7 separate regions of the Homo sapiens genome follow, and regions 1, 2, 3, 5, 6 and 7 are each linked to region 4. The links are contacts of gene promoters, found by promoter capture Hi-C in blood cells and fetal thymus (Javierre and others, 2016). All regions are on one chromosome and are shown on one strand. The core of a region is centred on a gene start or on the middle of the fragment in contact, and the rest is flanking DNA. Distances in the headings are between cores, read along the strand shown.

Region 1 (2,700 bases), core at 12-2,511, 220 kb before region 4:
TGAATACGGTAGTGGGAGGCAGTTTGGAGTAGTGGTTAGGCATACCAGCTTTAGAGTTAGAATGCCTGAGTTCAAATCCTGACTCTACCATCTAGCAGCTGTTGAGACCCTGGGCAACTTACCTATCTTTTCTCTGTCTCTGTTTTCTCACTGGTAAAATTAGGATAATAGCACCTATCTCATTAAATTGTTGACAGGACTAAGTGGGTTAATACATGTAAAGCACTTAGAACACTTCCTGGTATACAGTAGTGGTCAATAAGTGTCAGTTCTCAATAACTATTGTTATTTTTATTGTGAATTTGGCAATTATTAACGTAGTCACAACCCTGCTGCCTTGCCTGACCCACTCCTCTGCAGGAGAAGACTGTTTGTCTCACCGACTGTCCTGCAGTCCTGGTCTCTCGGTGCCAATCCTCCACCAAGGCCACAGCCTCCTCACCACTCTCAGGGTGGCGTGCCTGCACCCAGGTCTGGACCTCCCTAGGCAAGATAGTCAGGAACTGCTCCAGCACGAGCAGCTCCAGGATCTGCTCTTTGAGACGGATCTCCGGCCTCAGCCAACGACAGCAGAGAGCCCAGAGCTGGCTGAAGGCCTCGTGGGGTCCAGCTGCATCCCTGTATTGGAATTGCCTGAAGCGCTGGCGGGAGGCCTCTGGGCCAGAGACAGAGCCACGGTCCTTCTCCCAGAGTTTGGATTCTGATCCCCAAGAGTCCTCTTCCAGTTTCACAATCAGGAGTTCTTCAGGCTCTGGCTGCGGAGATGCCTGGGCTTGCAATTCCAGGGCCATAGCCATTGTCTAACCCAGACACCTCACTTCAGCTATGCTGACCTCATCCAATGTCTTCCTGCATCTACGGTGAGTCCTTCAAGAGGCTCCTAGAAAAGGGACTGCTCCCCAAGGCTCTAAGGCAGAAAGACAAAGGATAGAGTGTGAGCAAAAGGATGCAGAAGCTTCATTCTCCCCCTTCCCCCATATCTTCCGCCACCTTTGCATGGGGGCAGAGGTGCTAAGAGATGCCCCTTTCCCATAGGCAGGAAGTAAGGCCACAATCTGGCACCAAAGCCAGTAGCACCTACCTTACTTGACTGCTGGGTTGATTAGATGAGGGATCTATATATAAAAAGCTTAGACCAGTGTCTGACACAGTGAGTGCTCACAAAATGTCAATTAATATCTCATTTGAGCCTCACACTTTGGAGGAAGACAGCACTGTATTCAATCCTCTAGGTCATGCCTGAACACCTTAGCCTGGCATCCCACACCTCCATGATCTGGTCCAGTGTAGACTTCCTCCCTTCTACACATGTCCAAAGTCCAACCTTCCCTCAAGTTGGGTTCCAAATGTCACCCCCTTCCTAAGGCCTTTCTTCCCTAATCTTAAAGCTTGGCTGGCATTCCTCTAAGGATGTTCTCCTTGCAAAATCCAACAACTCTATGCTATCCCCTGGTCATCCCACCTATTTGGCATTATTCATCATCCCTATACATGACTCCTAAAACTCCAGCAAGGACCTGTTTCCAGACCTCCAGACCCCAAAATCCAAACCCCTTCATGACACTTCTACTTGACTGTCCCTTAGGCACCTCAAACTCAATGAGTCAAAAACTGGATTTGTTATTTTCTCCTGCAATCATGTCTGCCTTCTGAAGCTCCCCCTTCAGTGAAGGCACTGCCATCAAGTTCTCCACACCAGAAACCTGGTCATCATCATTCTCTAAGATCCCCAAATCCAATTCATCACCACGCTGTGTCCACTTGGCATCTCCATCTCCAATGCTACCACTTCAGTGCAGAGAATCATCATGTCTTCCACCTGATCAGTCTCCTAACACGTCCCTGCCTCCACTCACCTCACCCCAACCTCTGCTCTATTGTTTGCACAACAACCAAACTAGATCAAAGCCTGACTACACCACCTCCCTGCTAAACACCCTCCAGTGATCTACCATTTCCCTCAGGACAAAGCACAAGCCTTACCCAAGTCTCCAACTCGTCTCTTTACCATGCTCCACTAGTCATGGTGCTCCAGAAGCACAGCTTCCAGATCTTACACCACGCTGCCCTCTGAACCTTCCCCTCTTTGGGAAGGTCTCCTTTGGGAATGGTCTCCTCCCTTCCTTCAGCTAGCAAGGTCTCAGCTTAAATTGCTCTTTTTCCGTAAGGCCTTCCCTGCACCCTGAAACAAGATTCAGTCCTCGACCACAAGCTCCCATAGCATCTTACATTTTCTCTACCATAGCCCAGATCATGCTTTACTGTAATTTTCTTACCCACTAGATCATTAGCTTCCCAAGAGACCTAGCACAGTGCTCAGCACATATAGGAAGTACTCAATAAATAATAAAGTCACGAATGATTGACTAATGATGATGGTGTGTCATTAAGCAAGGATTGCAATTAATCCCTTTCTGTGCACACTAGATAAAAAATAAATGACCTTCGCGCTCATGCCAAAAGGAATTCCTTTCTCTTTTATTTCCATGTCTCTGTGACACTTACCACTTTCTACACTGTATGAGACATTGTATGAGAAGGATGTGCGTATCTATGTGTGTCCCAGAGGAGATTACAGCCTCTCTGATGGCACCCATGCTGGGTTATTTGAAAAAATGAGCTCTCTGTGTCATCCCAACAAGTCTGGGTGACATAAAAAATGCCCACTCAAAGGAGATCATTAGCTGCTTCCAAGTGGGA
Region 2 (2,700 bases), core at 22-2,521, 140 kb before region 4:
TGTAGCATAGCACCTTGTCCTAGTCACACTCATAATGCAGGACAGAGGTGGATCCTATTCAGGCCTGAATACCCCAACCCCACACACTGTTTTGTTCTACTGTTCACTTTGTACATCTGTAGTAGAATTTTTCACATTTTGCCTTGTATATAGTTTCATTGTTCTTCCAATACTGTAAAACTCCTTGAACTCTGGACCCAGACTGCCTGAAGAAAGAAACCGTGTCTTTTTCACCTACCCTCCAAGCAACAATCAGCGAGGCTATCGAGGTCAACTGGACTTGCCCCAAGAACACTTCATGGTCAATGTCTGGGTCAGGAATTGACTTTAGCCAACTGTGCCCTCTGTTGTGAAGCCATCCTAGAAACCAGTGCCTCCCATCTGTGTGTGCTTTCTAGCTCTGAAAACTACCAAAAAGTCCCTGTATCTACTGGAATATAGCTTTGGGAAACCAAGAATGCCTGCAGCCCCTCGTTCAGCAGGTACTTCAATGCAGAGGACCAATGTGGGCAGAACTGCACTACCAGCTTGTGAATGAATGTTCAGATGGGAAGTGAGCATCTTTTCCCTTATGTTTTGTGCTAAGAATACTGTGATGTTGAAGCCCAGATACTTTAAGATACATAGACATTTGGAAAATAAAGAAAAGGATAAATGAGAAAATAAAAATCAGCAGTAACACTATCACCCAAAGCAGCCATTGTTAACATTTGGTATCTATCCTCCCAGCTAAGCTATACATTAAATAACATGTACTTAACAATGGGATTATATTATGCATATTACATTTGTAACAAGCTTAGTGCCATTTTGATTGGTTATTCCAAATCTAGGGGAAGCCTATTAGACAAAAGTTCTCTCCTTCCTCTGGCTGTGATTTACTGGGGGTAGAGGTGGGGTTTAAATCATAATTACACTTACTTAATGTCATTTAAAATGTTGCAAAGCATTTCACATCCTGCTGAGGAATCTGATAGTGCTGAAGCAAGACCAGAGTCTACCTCTGCACTCAAGCCTTAGAGCCTTTCCACAATGCTTTTCAGTTTCAGGTTTCAGGAGGAAAGAGAAGCAAAAAGCAGTGCTATCATAAGCAGGGCTAGATGATCTAATGGCAGAGCCAGATGGGGTCTTGTTTTTAGTTGCAATCTGTCTGAGGCATTCTTGTAATATTATTTAACAATTAATTTTTAAGTATTTTTTTACATGCACAGGGAACAAAGTCCAAAAGATTCAAAAGAGTATACGGTGAAAAGCATGCCTCCCCCTACTCCCCGGGAGGCATCACTGTCTGCGATTTCTTGTGTATCCTTATCTGAAGCATTTTGAGTTCAAAGGGCAGGCAAGCATTTGCAGAGGTCATCAAGGGTATTTTCCTTTGTCGCATCAGTATTCTCTGCAGAGGTCATCCTGGTAACCAGGCTTCATAACCCCCAACAATATTCCAAAGGAATATCTCCTTTCAAAGTGCATGGTGGATGTACCCTGAGGCAGAGCCAAAATCACCCACTGAGACCACCCCAAACAAAGAGGGCAGAGAGCTGCCGTGCTGCCAGAGGAACAGACTCAGGAGGGCCACAGCTGAATCTGGACCAGTCTCAGAGTCAGGAGACCGAGGCCTCATCTGGTCTCTGCCATGGATGGACTGTAAGCAAGTTACTTAACCTTTCTGCGAAGTCTCCTCCTTGTCTAACAGGGTAAGATTATAATTAAGAGGATGGCTCAAAACAATTCCTCTTAAGCTTTAATGTGCACGTGAATGACCCAGAGGATCTTGTTGCAATGCTCATTCAGATTCAGCAGGTCTGGGGTGGGGCCCAAGATTCTGCATTTTCAACATGCTCCAAAGACTCAAGAAGTGGCCCTCAACTACTGGCCTGTGACCTGTTCCCGGGACTAAGCACCTGGTAATGTTTACTTCAGAGCTGAGCAGCTCCCTCTGGAGAACCCTGGCATTCAATTTCCTAAGATTTTTATTTGACCTCTGGTGCCTGGTGATGGTGCTGCTGCCAGACCCTGTGCTGAATGCTCTGAATATATGGTTCCTCTCATTGTCCCAGCTACTCAGTGAAGTAGGTGTTGTGATTATCCCCATTTCACAGATGAGGAAACTAAGGCTTAGAGAGGTGAATGTGCTCAATATTACACAGCTGGTAAGAGGCAGAGCAGGCCTTCCCACAGACCATCTGATTCCAGACTCCTCGTGTTAACACTAAACCAAAGAGCGAGTGGCATTCTCCATTTCAGCCTTGAAAGTGAACACCATAGGAAGTGCTGTACCAAGGGGCCTCCTCTTGTGTCTGTGTGGGAGGAGGACGCTGCTGTCCGTCAGCTCAGAGTGTCTCCTCCAAAGAAATGCATCTCAGCTTGCAAAGCCTCTACCTCAAATTTTTGTGAAAACTCTTCAAGGATTCTGACCGCAGCTCTTATCAGTTACGGGGCAGGAAGCCGCCTTCCACAAGCCACTCTCTCCCCATACCAGAGGGTTCCTTGGCTGTGAACAGCACTTAGATTGTGTCAGAGGAAGGCCATGGGCTTTAACAGGCCACATCCATTTTCATTTACCTTCTGAAAGAAGATTAAGGAGAAAATTCAATTTTGCCTAATGCCTCCCCCAAATGGCTAATTTATATGCTAATTAGCAAGATAGGGATCGATGAAACTGGTAATCAATATGATATCCAAGGCAATGGTAATGAAATT
Region 3 (2,700 bases), core at 142-2,641, 170 kb before region 4:
TAAAGGAAAAGCGGGCCCCAAGGTTGGAGAAGGAGGGATGCCCTAGAAAGGCGCTGGTCCCTTGTTTTCTGTGCTGAGTGATGACCTGACACCCATGGGAAAAGGTCGCTGCTGGACACCTGGATCGGGTCTGTCATACACGGAGGAAGCGGCTGTTCTACGTGAGTGTCTAACAAATTTCTTATAAGGCGAGGTTTAAATTCATCTTCCCCCCTCCCCAGGTCTGCTACAGAAGTGTCTTCTTGTAATTATCCCCCTCCCCCAATTCACTAAGACTGGTGGCAGCTTTAGGCTCACAGTGTAATTTAGCTTTTGCGACAATAGAAATGGTAGGAGGAGAGATGCGCCACTGATACTAAGCTTGCCCTGGGAGTTTCTTGGAAGTGTGGGGTAAAAAATATTTCTATCACCAGTGGGGATGAAAAATCGGCTAATGCGCCCGTGATATCAATAGAGTTTCTTTTGTGAGTCTAAAGTCGTTCCTTCTAAATCAAGAGAAAATGCGGTTACAATTGAAAAGTACCAGAAACCAATTTGATTTTGCAAGTGAAGTGCAAATTCCACTTCCACGTTGCTCTTGATGTCTTTTATCACCCAACAACAAATACTTGGCATATGCCAGGCACTCTGCTATGTCTTGGGGATGCAAAGATGAATAAGATAATTAGTCCTTGTCCTGAAAGAAGTGGTAGGAGAAACAAATGAAATTGCTAGTAAAAGTGATTAACAGCATAATAGATGTGAATGCAAAGGGCTTTGGAAGCACAGAGGAGGGAACAATTAGCTGTCTGAGAGGACCAGGGAAGGCTTTCCAGAGAACACATTTAAGCAAGGTGTTGAAGGATAAATAGGAGTTTACCTTGCAGAGAAAATTGGAAAGGACTGAAAAGGCAGCCAAAGCGGGGGAACAGCGAATGCAGCCACATAAAGAATATGTTATCTCTAGGGAATGGCTTTCTATTGTAACTATGGCTTTTTTTCCTTCCTCTGTAATGTAACTTTCTAAAAGTAGCCTAGAATTTCTTATTCCCAGCACAGTTGTCCAGTGATATTTTTCTTATTGTTTTCTCCCCCATATTTTCCCCTCATCAGTTTTTCTGAGCCTCATTCCTGGTCTTTGTCACCCATATCTTCCCAAGTAAGGGTCCATCATGTGGAGGTTGAATAGGAGTAGTTTTCAGTTGCTCCAAGGGAGAGGGCCTGAAACTGGGCATAATGTTTGGCACTAGAGGCAGCATCTGAGAGGGGCAAATCTAAATCATACAAAAAGAGAATACATGACCATAACTAGGGAAGCAATGCTGAATGTCAAATTTGTGAGACCTGGGGAAATAAGTAGTAAGATCAGAAGCTGGAAGGATCTGGATTAAGAGAGGATTGGAGTGTGAGATGGGTCAGGGCAAGTAGTCCAGGATTGAGACCATGAATCGTGCACATGCAGCTGAGCCCACTGTTGCATGGTGCCAGCTGTGCAGAACAGCGGTGGATCTGCCAGACTGGGCCAGGCCCTCCATAGGCTTTCCAATGCCTCCTCCTTTCTGTTCACCCTCCCTCCTTACTATTATCCTCTTCTCTTCATCCCAGTTTCCACCCATGTCTCATGCATTGGGCTTCTTTTAATGAGGTCTTAGCTAACAGAGCAGAGAAAATCCCATTCTGCTGTCTTAGCATCTATCTCTAGAACTATAAATAGTCCATTTAACCTCATTAGCCATCAACTAGCCAGCCTATTTTTACTTCCTGATCATTTAGAAGCTGAGCAAGGTTGGGCCCAGAGTAGCAAAGTGGACCTCATCCCCAAAACTCTTCTAATATTTGAATCAGATAAAGGCCTTTTTGCTTTGCTTAGACCACATTTATTTTTAGAATGGATTATGGTGAGTTTTTGGCAAATTTCCTGTTTTGAATTATATTACAGATCAAGTCGTGTAAAGAAGGTGTCACTGGGGTGACATGCTTAATACGGTCTGCTAAGATTGATGATACTGTAAGTGCTGGAAAATCATGGGCGGTATTTAAGCAATCTTCTCAGTCAGTGTATTTACTGAACACCTGCTTGTGTGCAAATACTATCCTGTATTTGTGATGTGGAGGAGACAGGAAAATGAGAGTGGTGGTGTAGTATGGGGGTTATTCTCAGCTAAACAAAGATTTGGATCCCAGTTCTACCAGGTACTTGCTACATGACTTTGACTTCAGTTTCTTCATCTGTAATAATGCCACCTACCCAATATAGTTGTGAGGACTAAATGAAATCACAAATGTATAGCAGTCATTTAGTACCTTTTTGAGATGCTTAATGCGTGGTATTATAGGAGTTGAGAAAAGAAAAAAAATGGTGATAATTGAAGCCATATGATTAGCTGAGTTCACTGCTGGTAACAGCATAGAAATAGAATAGAGGATGAAGGACTGAAGCTTGAAGATACATCCCACATTTAGGGAGGGAGGGAGAAGGCATGGAGTCCGTATGGTAGAAAATAAGAAAAGAAGCAAGAGAACCATCTAATGTATTTATCCAACAAATGCATTCTATTCACCACCATTTGTTGTGTACCTGACAGATGCCAAGGCCAGTTAGACACGCTATTAACCATGAGAGTGTAGTATCACAGAAGTCAAGAGAAGAAAAAGTTTTGAGCTGCAGAAATTCGTCAGCAGTTTGAAATTGTACAGAAAGAGTGGGAAACATTCATTATA
Region 4 (2,700 bases), core at 137-2,636:
CAGGGCTTGGGCGAGATTCCAGCCTACACGGGGGGTCCTGGCCACCCATGAAGGAGACAGGCCCACTGCCACACACACAGCTCCCGAAGGTTCCACACTGCTCGAGGGCAGGGTGGTGGGACAGCAGGATTATTTCCTCATGCCAGGGGTCTTTGCTGGAAATCCTGGACCCATTCTGAGCCCCTCTTGCCGGCCCTCTCCCCCAGATCTGAGGATCTAGCTCCTTACAATGCCATGTTTATAGAGCCCCTTCCAAATAAATGTTTCCCAGTTCCCCCAAAACTCCCATCCTCAACCCTCCACATCCGCCCCCCCACCCCCATCCCGCGCAGCTCTGAGGAAACCGGCAGTTAACTTTTCCCAAAAATCCTGCAAAGGCAGCTGGCTGGGGGAGAAATGGGCCTCGAGATCCTTTCGCGGCATTTCACCGCCTTCCAAAAAAAAAAAAAAAGAAAGAAAGAAAGAAAGAGAAGCAAAGCAAAGCAAACTTTCGGAGTTAACTTTAAATTCCCAGCCCTCCCCCCTCAAATCGCCCGGCAGCTTCCCTTTTTTTTTTTCTTTAAAGTGCAATTGCATTGTGTCTCACCTCCCCGAAAGGCTCGCGGCTCTCGCCAAAGAAAAGGAAAAAAGCCAACCCTTCGGGTGCCCCCTCTGCTTCCAGCCGCCTCTCCCACATTCTCAGACAGTTTTATTAAAATTTTCAGACAAAAGAAAAACAAAAATGGCAGCCTGGCTTATTTTTAAAACAGGACAGGGACGCCATATTCTGCAGATCTGCAAAAAAAGGGAGAAATCCGGCACTGGCTGCTCCACCGGGCCGGCTGCAAAGTGCGCGAACCGCGCCGTTTGCAATCCGTTTATTTGCATTATGCCCCATGAATCATTGTTTACCGGAGAATTGCAGCAGGGTTTGAATAGCCCGGCTTAAGAAAACACACACACACGCGCGCGCACACACACACACGCACACACACTCGGAGACCAGCCCCAGACACGCCGCGGGAGACACTTCCTACCCCGCGCGCCCCGCTGCCGCCGCCGCCGCCGCCGCTCTGGGCCGGGCCCGAGGCGCAGGCGGCCCCGGGCCCTCGGAGCGCCCCGGCCCGCGCTGACAGCGCCCGCGCCCCGGCCCGGCCCCCGCCCGCAACTCGGCGCAACTTTCCCGCGGGCAGGCGCCCGCCGCCGCTGGGCCCGCTCCCCGCGCGCCCCGGGCCCGCACGGACCTGGCTGTGCTGGCGGCGCCTCCGGGACGCGGCCGCAGCCCCGCGCCCGGCGGCCCGAGCAGGGCCGGGCTGGGGCTCCGGCACAGGCTCCGGGCTCGGGCTCCGGCTCTGGCTCGCTGCGGAGCCGCGCGCAAACCTTCCGGGTCGCCTGCTGTTCACTTCTGGGTTCTGCAAGCGCCGAGGCGGCGGCGGCGGCGGCGGCGGGAGGCTGGGTCTGCAGCGCCGCGCGGCCCCCAGTGCGCTCGGCGAGCCCCCGCGCCAGGCGCCCGGCTCCGGGGGGGCCGCGTCGGGCCCCCGCCTCTCCGGCTGCGCAGCCCGTCCGGCCCCGGGGGCTCCCGCGAGTGGGCAGCGCCGGGCGCTGGCGACTGCGCGAGAGGGGAGGGGGCCGGGCGGGGGGCGGGGGCGGGCCGCGCGCTGGGGCCCCCACTCGGGCCCCGGGGCCTCGTCTCGCGCTCGCCGTCGCCGCCGCCGCCGCCGCCGCCACCGCCTGGCAAAGTTGCGCTGCGCCCCCCGCCCGCGCCGCGCCGGAGGCAGAGCCACAAAGGAACTCCTCGCCCCCCTCCGCCCGCCTGAGCCGCGCGGGGAGGGCACCGGCGCCCGGCCCTAGGACAGCCCCTTCCCCAGCGCGGGGGCTCCCGGGGCCCCGGCGGCCGTGGCCATTGTCCTGCCCAGGCCCGGCGGCCGCCTCGCCACCCCACTCCTGGGTGATGGCAGGCTGGGGACTTGGGCCTGGCGGGCCACGGCCCTGACCAGGCCGAGCCCGCGCGGTGCCAGGCTGCCCCTGGGGGTCTCCCTCGAAGACGGCCGCCTGGAGGGGACCCCCAGGATGGACCCTCACCCCTGATAACGACCTGCTCAAAATCCAGGCCGATTTTTTTTTTAAGACGAGGACATAGGGGTGGGGAGTAGAAGTTTGCACAGGCCCAGCCACCCCTCCCTAGCCCTAGGCCGGATCCCCGACGGATGGGGCGGCCCGAAGCTGGCAGTGGCTCCTCTCGCAGAGTCTATCAGAGGTGGCACCGGCTGTCCCCCGGCTCCAGACCTCAGAGCCATCTGTGTGACTCCTCCTCCCGCCTCACCCTCCCCAGCCAATCAGTCACCAAGTCCTCCTGATTCGGCCTCCCGAGCTGTGTCAGCTTCCAAACTTACACTTCTACCTGAGGAGGCAGCCGGTTCCAGGATCCCTTCACCGGCTTAGATTTCTATGGCATCCACCACCCCCCGACCGCTGGGCCAGGATGGATCAGGGCTGGCCCTGCCCTCAGGGAGCGCACAGTCCCCCGGGAAGGGCACAGAGATAAACAATCATCTGCCAGCGTTTGTCCTCCAGGAAGCATTTCCAAATTCAGTAAATATTCATAGAGGACCTAGTAAACATCAACCACTGTTTTTAATAGCTGGTTGGCTGGAGCACAGCTATTAAAAAACTGGATAATGCCCCTGCCCTCACGAAGATTCTAGTCCAGCACAGGATGGC
Region 5 (2,700 bases), core at 186-2,685, 240 kb before region 4:
GAGAAAGGTCACCCACTCAGCTGCAGCATGGGGTGGGGGAAGCAACAATAAGGTAAGGAAGGAACCTGCCTTTGCCCCCCGAAAACATGCATTTATTTGGAGGTAAGTGCAGGCTTGCTGAAAGTCAGAGGGAGGGCAAAATGATGCTAAAGACATGCTAGCAGTAATAGTGATGCTGGGAGTGTGAAGAAACAGCCAGGAGCTGTGGGGGAAAAGGATCCAGTGTCTACCATCCCAGGCCTCCAGGCCCATTTCAACTCCCTCCTCTCCTGTAAAGCCTTCCCTGCACTCCCACTGCATGGAACACTAACCCCTTGTAGCAGATTGGGGCAGGGGCTTGAGATTGGTGTTTGCTATTAACAGGTGGGGGAGCTGAGCAATGCCCAAATGGAGGATGGGATCAAAACTGAGGTTAAGGGGAGCTTTGGGAGGCTGAGGTGGGAGGATCGCTTGAGGCCAGGAGTTCAAGACCAGCCTGGGCAACACAAGACCCCCATCTCCCCCCCAAAAAAAATGGGGTAAGGGAATATTTTGAATGATTAATTTTGACTTTAGATATTGACTTCATTCAGAAAGAGACCTCTCAGGCAGCTGGGTAACTCCAGCCCAACTGGAAATGCTCTTAGAAGGGAGAAAGTATTGGCAGAACTGAGTCCAAGATGAGTCCAATGGGCAGGTCTCTCCAGGCACGTGCAGGGGAGGCTTGGATGGGAGTCACTGAGTGTGTACATCAATGCACGTGCTGAATGGGCAGGCCAAGAGCCCCATGATGGGTGATGGTAGACACCGGGGCTTTGAGATGCCCAGGAGTCACCCAAGCACAGCTGGTTGGCAGGCAGCTGGGATCCTAAGAGGAGAGGCCACAGCAGGACACAGATCTGGAAGTCATTAGCATCTACACAGAAGAAAAGAGAGAAAGAAAGGAAAAGAAAAAAAGAAGAGAAAGGGAAACAGAGTGAATGAAGAAGCAAGCCTAGGACAGAACTCTGGAGTACAAAGACCCAGAACAGCCTGGGTGAGGCAAGTTCACCTGCAACACCCACACCCACTCCAGACATCACTGCCTTCATTACTTCAAAACTGCACCCCTGTCCCCAAAGGGTGTTACTCCCCTACAGAAAGTGACTCAATTCTTTTCTGCAGCCCGAAAGCAGAGAGCTATCCCCACTGGGGGCCCCAGAACAAGATGAGGCAGGACGGACTACCCAGAGCGCCTGACTACATTATTTAGCATGGAGGGACCCTAGCTGCTTTACTCGGCTTCTGGGAGGAGGCTACAGTGGACAATAAGGCCAAGGCAGCCATGACCATGAGTTCAGCTGCTGAGGTCAAGGCCTTAGAAAAAACCGAGTATCTGAAAAAGTCTTGGCCCCTCCTTTCCCTGCCCCTACCTTTGGGTCTGCTGCCTCTGGGGGTCTGAGGAATGGGAGGCCTAAGGTCCTTTAGGTACCTTTTTGTCCCTTCAGAGGAGCCAATGCCCTTCTTGAGGTGGAGGGTGAAGAAATCAAGGGGAGGCAGCCATCTGGGGAGACGATCCTGCCTTTAGCAGCTCACATGATGTAACACCCTCCCAGGGCAGCATTTGCTGGTTTGGTTTTCCATAACCAGGGTCTGACCTGTGGCCAGGAAGGCTGAGAAACTGTCCACCCATTCTGCAGAGTGAATCTACTTCCCAAGAGCAGAATCACGCTAGCAAAGCTCAGGGTGTGTAAAACCAGATGTCAGTTTATCTGAGCAGCACAGACCTACTGGAGGGCGCCTGGGTGCCCAGCAAGCTCTTGGGTAGACAGCAAGCCTGGAACACTGAAGCCCCCTGAAAGAGTGCTTCTTCCAAAGGAAGTCAGGTAGACAAGGAGGAAGGGACCACCTGGGCCATTTTCTCACCTGGCCCACACTGGCCTTGCTTTCATGACTGAACCTCTATTAAGATTCATGAGACAAGAATGGCAGATAATAAACATCAAAACTGTTCACTAAAGATATGAGACACTAACACACTACCAAACCCAGGGGAAAGGGTGACCAAGTGGAGAGAGGACTACCACCTCACATCCACACAGAGCTCAGCTTGACTTCCACAGTGAGGGCTCCAGAAAACTCAGGGCTACATGAAGAATTCAGGGGTCAGTAACAAAGAAGACAGGGTCCAGAACATGATGGTAGTGGGTGGGAGTGGGGAATGGTCTAGATCTCCTTTGAGGGCCATCTTCCTCTCCATTCAGCACTATCAAGTAGCTCTGTCCTAGGCCCAATATTTGAAACTGAAATTCTTCCTTTCTCATTAGTTTAACTACTTCGCATACACAGATCTCTAGTCCTAGCCTCTCCCCTAGCTGCTAGCCGACATCCAAATGCATAGCATCACCATGATTTCCCTTAAGCACCTCAAGTTCTAGACATACCAAACTAAACTTCTCATCTTCTGCCCTCCTGCTCTATCAGCCTCTCCTCCTTGTGCTCCCAATTCTGAATGAGGACATGCTCTACCCAGTCACCAAAGGCATTCTAGCTTTCCTCTGATGTCCTCCCCTCTGCCTCTGAGACCTTTCCCATTCATTCCCTCCTCCTCAGTGTCACCACTGCTCTAGTTCAGACCCTAGCCTTTAGCTGAAATACCACAACAGTGTCCCAAAAGGCCATCCTAATTGCAGCATGTCCAAGTTCCATTCAGCTGTCAGATTTCAACCATGCACATCTGAA
Region 6 (2,700 bases), core at 178-2,677, 200 kb before region 4:
GTCTCTCTGCTTTCATTCTTGCCCCCTGCAACCCATCCTCCACACAGAATCTCGAGTGAGTTTTTAAAAATATACCATGGCTGGGCGCAGTGGTTCATGCTGGTAATCCCAGCACTTTGGGAGGCCAAGGTGGGAAGATCACTTGAGGTCAGGAGTTTGAGACCAGCCTGGCCAACATGGTAAAACCCCATCTCTACTAAAAATACAAAAAAAAAAAAAATTAACCGGGTGTGCTGGCAGGCACCTGTAATCCTAGCTACTCAGGAGGCTGAGACACGAGAATTGTTTGAACCTGGGAGGCAGGGATTGAAGTGAGCCAAGATCGCACCATTGCACTCCAGCCTGGGAGACAAAGCGAGACTCTGTCTCAATAAATAAATAAATAAATAAATAAATAAATAAATAAATAAAAATATAAACCATATCACAGCACTCTCTTGCTTAAGCCCTTCAATGGCTTCCCATCACATTTATAATTTTTTTTTGTCTGACCTACAATGCCTTACCTGAGCTGGTTCTCACCCACCATTGAATACCAACCATGCAACTCCCCCCATCTCTCTCTCTCTCTTTCCCAACACACTTGGCCTTCTCTCTGCTGATCAGAAGGGCCACGCCCACCTCCACCTAAGGGCTTTTGCAGTAGCTGTTCTCTTTCCCTGGTAAGCTCTGCCCACCTGTGATGGGTTTTTGCTTTTGTATTCTGGAAGGTTTGTTGTTTGTAGATGTGTCTGTGTGTATGCATGCGTGTGTGTGTGTGTGTGTGTCTGTTTTTACTAACCATGAGTTAATGCTACAAGACTGATGGTTTTAAATATGAGTCACCACGTTAGGAACTTTTGCCTGAGACAAAACAATACTCCCAGGACATTGAGAGGCTCTGTTCTCCCACCCTATTTTCTTAGCAGATAGCATGACTTTGAACCTAAAACAAAATAAAACTCTTTGAAGTCTTTCCAACAATGAAAAGACATAATTTGGTAATAATAACAATAATATGAAAACAAAATAGAATTTAAGACAAATCATTAAGTGATTAAAGAGGATCATGTGGAAATAATAAAAGCTCTATTACTAGAGCCACAAAACACACACATCAAAGCTTTTAGAACTATAAGGAGAAGGTGACAGAAGCACAATTGTAGTTTTTATTTATTCACCCAACAATGTGCCAGGCACTGCGCTAGGTGGTGGGGAATAAGCAGTGAACAAAACATCTAAAATTCCTGAGACTGTGGAGCTTACTTTTAATGGGAGAAAACAGACAATTTTTAAAGTAAATATACAATATATTATATAATCATGAGTTATATGGTGAAAAATAAAGCAATGGGCCGGGCACGGTGGCTCACGCCTGTAATCCCAGCACTTTGGGAGGCTGAGGCAGGCGGATCATGAGGTCAGGAGATCGAGACCATCCTGGCTAACACAGTGAAACCCCGTCTCTTCTAATAATACAAAAAAATAGCTGGGCGTGGTGGCGGGCGTCTGTAGTCCCAGCTACTCGGGAGGCTGAGGCAGGAGAATGGCGTGAACCTGGGAGGCGGAGCTTGCAGTGAGCCGAGATTGCGCCACTGCACTCCAGCCTGGGTGATAGAGCGAGACTCCATCTCAAAAAAAAAAAAAAGAAAGAAAGAAAAATAAAGCAATGAAGGTGGATGGGGAGAAACAAGGGTAGGAATCAAGGTAGAATTTTAAGTAATGTGTCTAAGAAGACCTCTCTAGTGAGGTGACATTTGAACAGAAGCTTGAAGAATGGAGAGGGAACCACCCATCTCTCTGGCAGAGGAAGCAGCAAGTGCAAAGGCCCTAAGGTGGGAGGTGGAAGCCAGGAGGCCAGGGCGGCTAAAGTGGAATGAGCCAGAAGAGGGATAGCGGATGAAATCAGAGACATCTGCAGGGCATAGCCGCTCAGGGTGGCGCCGTAGACTGTTGTCAGGACTCTGGCTTTTATTCTGTATGAGATATGGGGTCATTAGAGGGTTTTCATCAGAGGAGTGACACAAGCCTGTTTATACTATCAAAGAATCATTCGGGCTGCTATGATAAGAGCAGAATTGCTGGGGATAGTGGTGGTTGCATGAGGACAGAAGCAGAGGGATAAGTGAGGAGTTGTTGCATTAAGTCAGGTGTAAGATAATGTGGGCTTGAACCCTGGTGATAGACTTGGGATTAAGAGGTTAAGACATGGTTAAATTCTGGATATATTTTGAAGATGGAACTGACAGCATTGGCTGATGAGTTGGACGTGGGGTGTGAGGAAAGAGAAGTCAAGGATGATGCCAAGACTGTGGGAGAACAGATTTAGAAGAATTAGTTCAACTTTTAAAGTACTCAGTTTAAAATGACTGTTATAGGCCAGGGGTGGTGCCTCATGCCTATAATCCCAGCATCTTGTGAGGCCAAGGCAGGTAAATTGCTTGAGCCCAGGAGTTTGAGACTAGCCTGAGTAACATGGTGAAGTCCCATCTCTACAAAAACATACAAAAATTTTCTGGGCGTGGTGGCACATGCCTGTAGTCCCAGCTACTCAGGAGGCTGAGGTGGGAGAATCACTTGAGCCCAGGAGATAGACCCTGCAGTGAGCTGTGATTGCACCATTGCCCTCCAGCCTGGATGACAGAGTGAGACCCTGTCTCAAAATAAATAAATAAAACAAAACAAAACAAAATGACTATTATATACCAAGTGGCTGTGTCA
Region 7 (2,700 bases), core at 40-2,539, 210 kb after region 4:
CTTTGGGAGGCCGAGGTGGGTGGATCACTTGAGTCAGGAGTTCAAGACCAGCCTGGCCAACATGTGAAACCTCGTCTCTACTAAAAATATAAAAATTAGCCGAGTCTGTTGGTGGGCACCTGTAATCCTAGCTACTTGGGAGACTAAGGCAGGAGAATCGCTTGAACCCAGGAGGCAGAGGTTGCAGTGAGCTGAGATCGAGCCACTGCACTCCAGCCTGGGCAACAGAGTGAAACTCTGTCTCAAAAAAAAAAAAGGGGAAAGAAAAAGAAAAAGAATGTGGTGGCCGTGCACGGTGGCTCATGCCTGTAATCCCAGCACTTTGGGAGGCTAAGGTGGGGGATCATCTGAGGTCAGGAGTTCAAGACCAACCTGGCCAACATGGTGAAATCCCACCTCTACTAAAAATACAAAAATTAGCCAGGCATGGTAGCAGGCACCTGTAATCCCAGCTATTCAGGAGGCTGAGGCAGGAGAATTGCTTGAACCCCGGAGGCAGAGGTTGCAGTGAACCAAGGTCACACCACTGCACCCCAGCCTGGACAACAGAGTGAGACTCCGTCTTAAAAAAAAAAAAAAAAAAGGATGTGGTGGGTAGAATGAAATTTCAGGTTTTCTTCTTTAGTCTCTAGTCATTCTCTGATTCCTTTCCCCTCAAGTGTTGGCTTCCCAGCTTTTAGTCGTCATTCTTCTCTCCTCTCTACCCTCCCACAAAACAAGCTCATCTCCTCTATGTCTTTGACGCAGGTAGTAATAGTTAACATTTACTGAGTGCTTACCATGAGTAGGGCACCGTGCTAAGTACTTTACATCCATTATGTAATCTGATACTCACTGTGATCCTGTGAAGTGGGTATCGGCATCCTGATTTTGCAAAGAGAAATTGAGGCCCAGCAGGGTTAAGTTACTTGCCATGTCACATAAGGTGCTTTGGGCAGTGAGTATCAGAATGCCGACATAGATGCGGTTTGAACATTAGGGGTTTATCTCTCATCACAGGAAGTGTGGAAGAAGGTGACATCTGAGTTGCTTAATTCAGCAGCTCAGTGATGTCAGACCCTAGGTCAGCTTCCCTCTGAGTCTCGCAGCTCTCCCCTCCTGGTCCCAAGATAGCTGCTACATTTCAAGCGCTGCATCATCCCTGAGGCAGGCAGGAAGGGAGTTTTTCTTCTTGTGCATCTCTTTTTCCTGGAAAGCAAAGCCTCCCACAAAAGCCCCCAAGAGAATTTCCCATAGGACCCTGTCTCCTCTCCCCCTTTTTTCTTTCCTTACCCTCTTGAGTTGTAACTCCAGCCAGACTGACCCTCTTTCAACTCTGTACCAAACAGAAGTCTTGGTGGCTAACCTAAGCAGTGAAGGAATTTATTGAATACTGTGAGGTTTTCACCAATTCCAAACATGAGTAGGAACCAAAAGTAATTAGGCTAAGAACACAGCCAAAGACATGGCACAGGAAAAGCCTACCTGGACAGCCACCACTGGCCACGGTCCACCCACTGAGGCTGGACTCTTACCTCCCCACCAAGAACAGGCCCTGCCCCTTCCTCTCTCTCCCTCAAGAGTCAAAGTCCTGGGCAGGACATCCCACTGGCCAAGCCTGGTCACGTGCTCACTCCCCTGTTGCCAAGAAGGCAGGCAAGAGTCTGCCCTTTCAGCTTCTGCAGGGTGGCTCTGTTTTCCCCCAAGTTCCTTGCAGTGAAGGATTTCCACAACACAAGAGGGGTGTTCCTCTGCCAAATATCACAGTTCCCCTCAACTTTCTATAATATTTCTTTTTTTTTTTTGGAGATAGGGTCTTGCTCTATCCCTCAGGCTGGAGTGCAGTGGCATGATCTTGGCTCACTGAAACCTCCGCCTCCCAGGTTCAAGTGATTCTCATGCCTCAGCCTCCCGAGTAGCTGGGATCACAGATGCTCGCCACCATACCTGGCTAATTTTTGTATTTTTAGTAGGGATGGGGTTTCACCATGTTGGCCAGGCTGGTCCTGAACTCCTGACCTCAGGTGATCTGCCCACCTCGGCCTCCCAAAGTGTTGAGATTACAGGCATGAGCCACCACGCCCAACCTCTTGTCATAATCTTTCTTAACTCCAGGCCTTTGCACATGCCATTCCCTTTGTCTAGAATACCCTTCTTCCCTCTCTTCCCTAAGCAAATCCTCCTTGTTCTTAAGGTTTCATCTCACTTACACATCATTTCCCCTCAAATCTGAGCTGGGGGCTCCTCTATTGTGCTGTTACTGAAGCCTGTACCTTTCCCAGCACAGACTCCGTCAATGTCTTATTTGTTGTTTTTTTTGTTTTTTTCCCCCGCTTGACTGCAAGTTCTGTAGAAGTGGAGAGTTTTCTTTTCTTTTCTTTTTTTTTTTTTGAGATGGGGTCTTGCTCTGTCACCCAGTCTAGAGTGCAGTGGCACAGTCTCAGCCCACTACAACCTCTGCCTCCTAGGTTCAAGTGATTCTCCTGCCTCAGCCTCCTAAGTAGCTGGGATTACAGGCACATGCCACCACACCTGGCTAATTTTGGTATTTTTAGTAGAGACAGGGTTTCACCATGCTGGCCACGCTGGTCTTAAACTCCTGACCTCAGGTGATCTGACCGCCTCGGCCTCCCAAAGTGCTGGGATTACAGGTGTGAGCCACTGCGCCCAGCCCGAAGTGGAGAGTTTTCTAAAGGTGGAAACCTTGCTTTTGTTTTGTTT

What was found. The method cuts DNA at HindIII sites, captures the fragments that hold promoters and counts their contacts. A CHiCAGO score of 5 or more calls a contact.
Region 1: a contact is called between a fragment that was not itself captured here and the fragment with the promoter of ZNF362 in region 4, in 4 of 17 cell types (M0 macrophages, M2 macrophages, naive B cells and 1 more). The highest score is 7.5, in M0 macrophages.
Region 2: a contact is called between a fragment that was not itself captured here and the fragment with the promoter of ZNF362 in region 4, in 1 of 17 cell types (neutrophils). The highest score is 5.6, in neutrophils.
Region 3: a fragment that was not itself captured here is called in contact with the fragment with the promoter of ZNF362 in region 4 in 3 of 17 cell types (naive CD4 T cells, erythroblasts and total CD8 T cells); the score reaches 6.1 in naive CD4 T cells.
Region 5: a fragment that was not itself captured here is called in contact with the fragment with the promoter of ZNF362 in region 4 in 1 of 17 cell types (M0 macrophages); the score reaches 5.4 in M0 macrophages.
Region 6: a contact is called between a fragment that was not itself captured here and the fragment with the promoter of ZNF362 in region 4, in 2 of 17 cell types (M0 macrophages and erythroblasts). The highest score is 6.4, in M0 macrophages.
Region 7: a contact is called between a fragment that was not itself captured here and the fragment with the promoter of ZNF362 in region 4, in 1 of 17 cell types (total CD4 T cells). The highest score is 5.2, in total CD4 T cells.

What each region holds. Positions count from the first base shown.
Region 1 is chr1:33,477,386-33,480,085 of GRCh38, reverse strand. ZSCAN20 (zinc finger and SCAN domain containing 20) reads right to left here. Exons shown (of 8, transcript NM_001377376.1): 2 at 381-907. The coding sequence starts at 797. Among named protein-coding and RNA genes, the nearest start is that of ZSCAN20, 6.1 kb to the right of the region's middle. The HindIII fragment of the contact is 259 bases long and covers 1,132-1,390 here.
Region 2 is chr1:33,396,479-33,399,178 of GRCh38, reverse strand. The region is part of intron 1 of PHC2 (polyhomeotic homolog 2); the gene reads left to right. Among named protein-coding and RNA genes, the nearest start is that of PHC2, 33 kb to the left of the region's middle. The HindIII fragment of the contact is 941 bases long and covers 801-1,741 here.
Region 3 is chr1:33,427,642-33,430,341 of GRCh38, reverse strand. The region is part of intron 1 of PHC2 (polyhomeotic homolog 2); the gene reads left to right. Among named protein-coding and RNA genes, the nearest start is that of PHC2, 2.1 kb to the left of the region's middle. The HindIII fragment of the contact is 2,058 bases long and covers 363-2,420 here.
Region 4 is chr1:33,255,178-33,257,877 of GRCh38, reverse strand. It overlaps ZNF362 (zinc finger protein 362), which reads right to left and starts at 1,386. Exons shown (of 9, transcript NM_152493.3): 1 at 1,224-1,386. RefSeq lists an enhancer at 636-930 and silencers at 1,396-1,455, 1,898-1,997. The HindIII fragment of the contact is 6,922 bases long and covers 1-2,700 here.
Region 5 is chr1:33,497,583-33,500,282 of GRCh38, reverse strand. ZSCAN20 (zinc finger and SCAN domain containing 20) reads right to left here. Exons shown (of 8, transcript NM_001377376.1): 8 at 1-2,700. Among named protein-coding and RNA genes, the nearest start is that of ZSCAN20, 26 kb to the right of the region's middle. The HindIII fragment of the contact is 4,309 bases long and covers 1-2,700 here.
Region 6 is chr1:33,456,841-33,459,540 of GRCh38, reverse strand. No RefSeq gene overlaps it. Among named protein-coding and RNA genes, the nearest start is that of ZSCAN20, 14 kb to the left of the region's middle. The HindIII fragment of the contact is 645 bases long and covers 1,105-1,749 here.
Region 7 is chr1:33,044,295-33,046,994 of GRCh38, reverse strand. No RefSeq gene overlaps it. Among named protein-coding and RNA genes, the nearest start is that of AK2, 8.8 kb to the right of the region's middle. The HindIII fragment of the contact is 3,184 bases long and covers 1-2,700 here.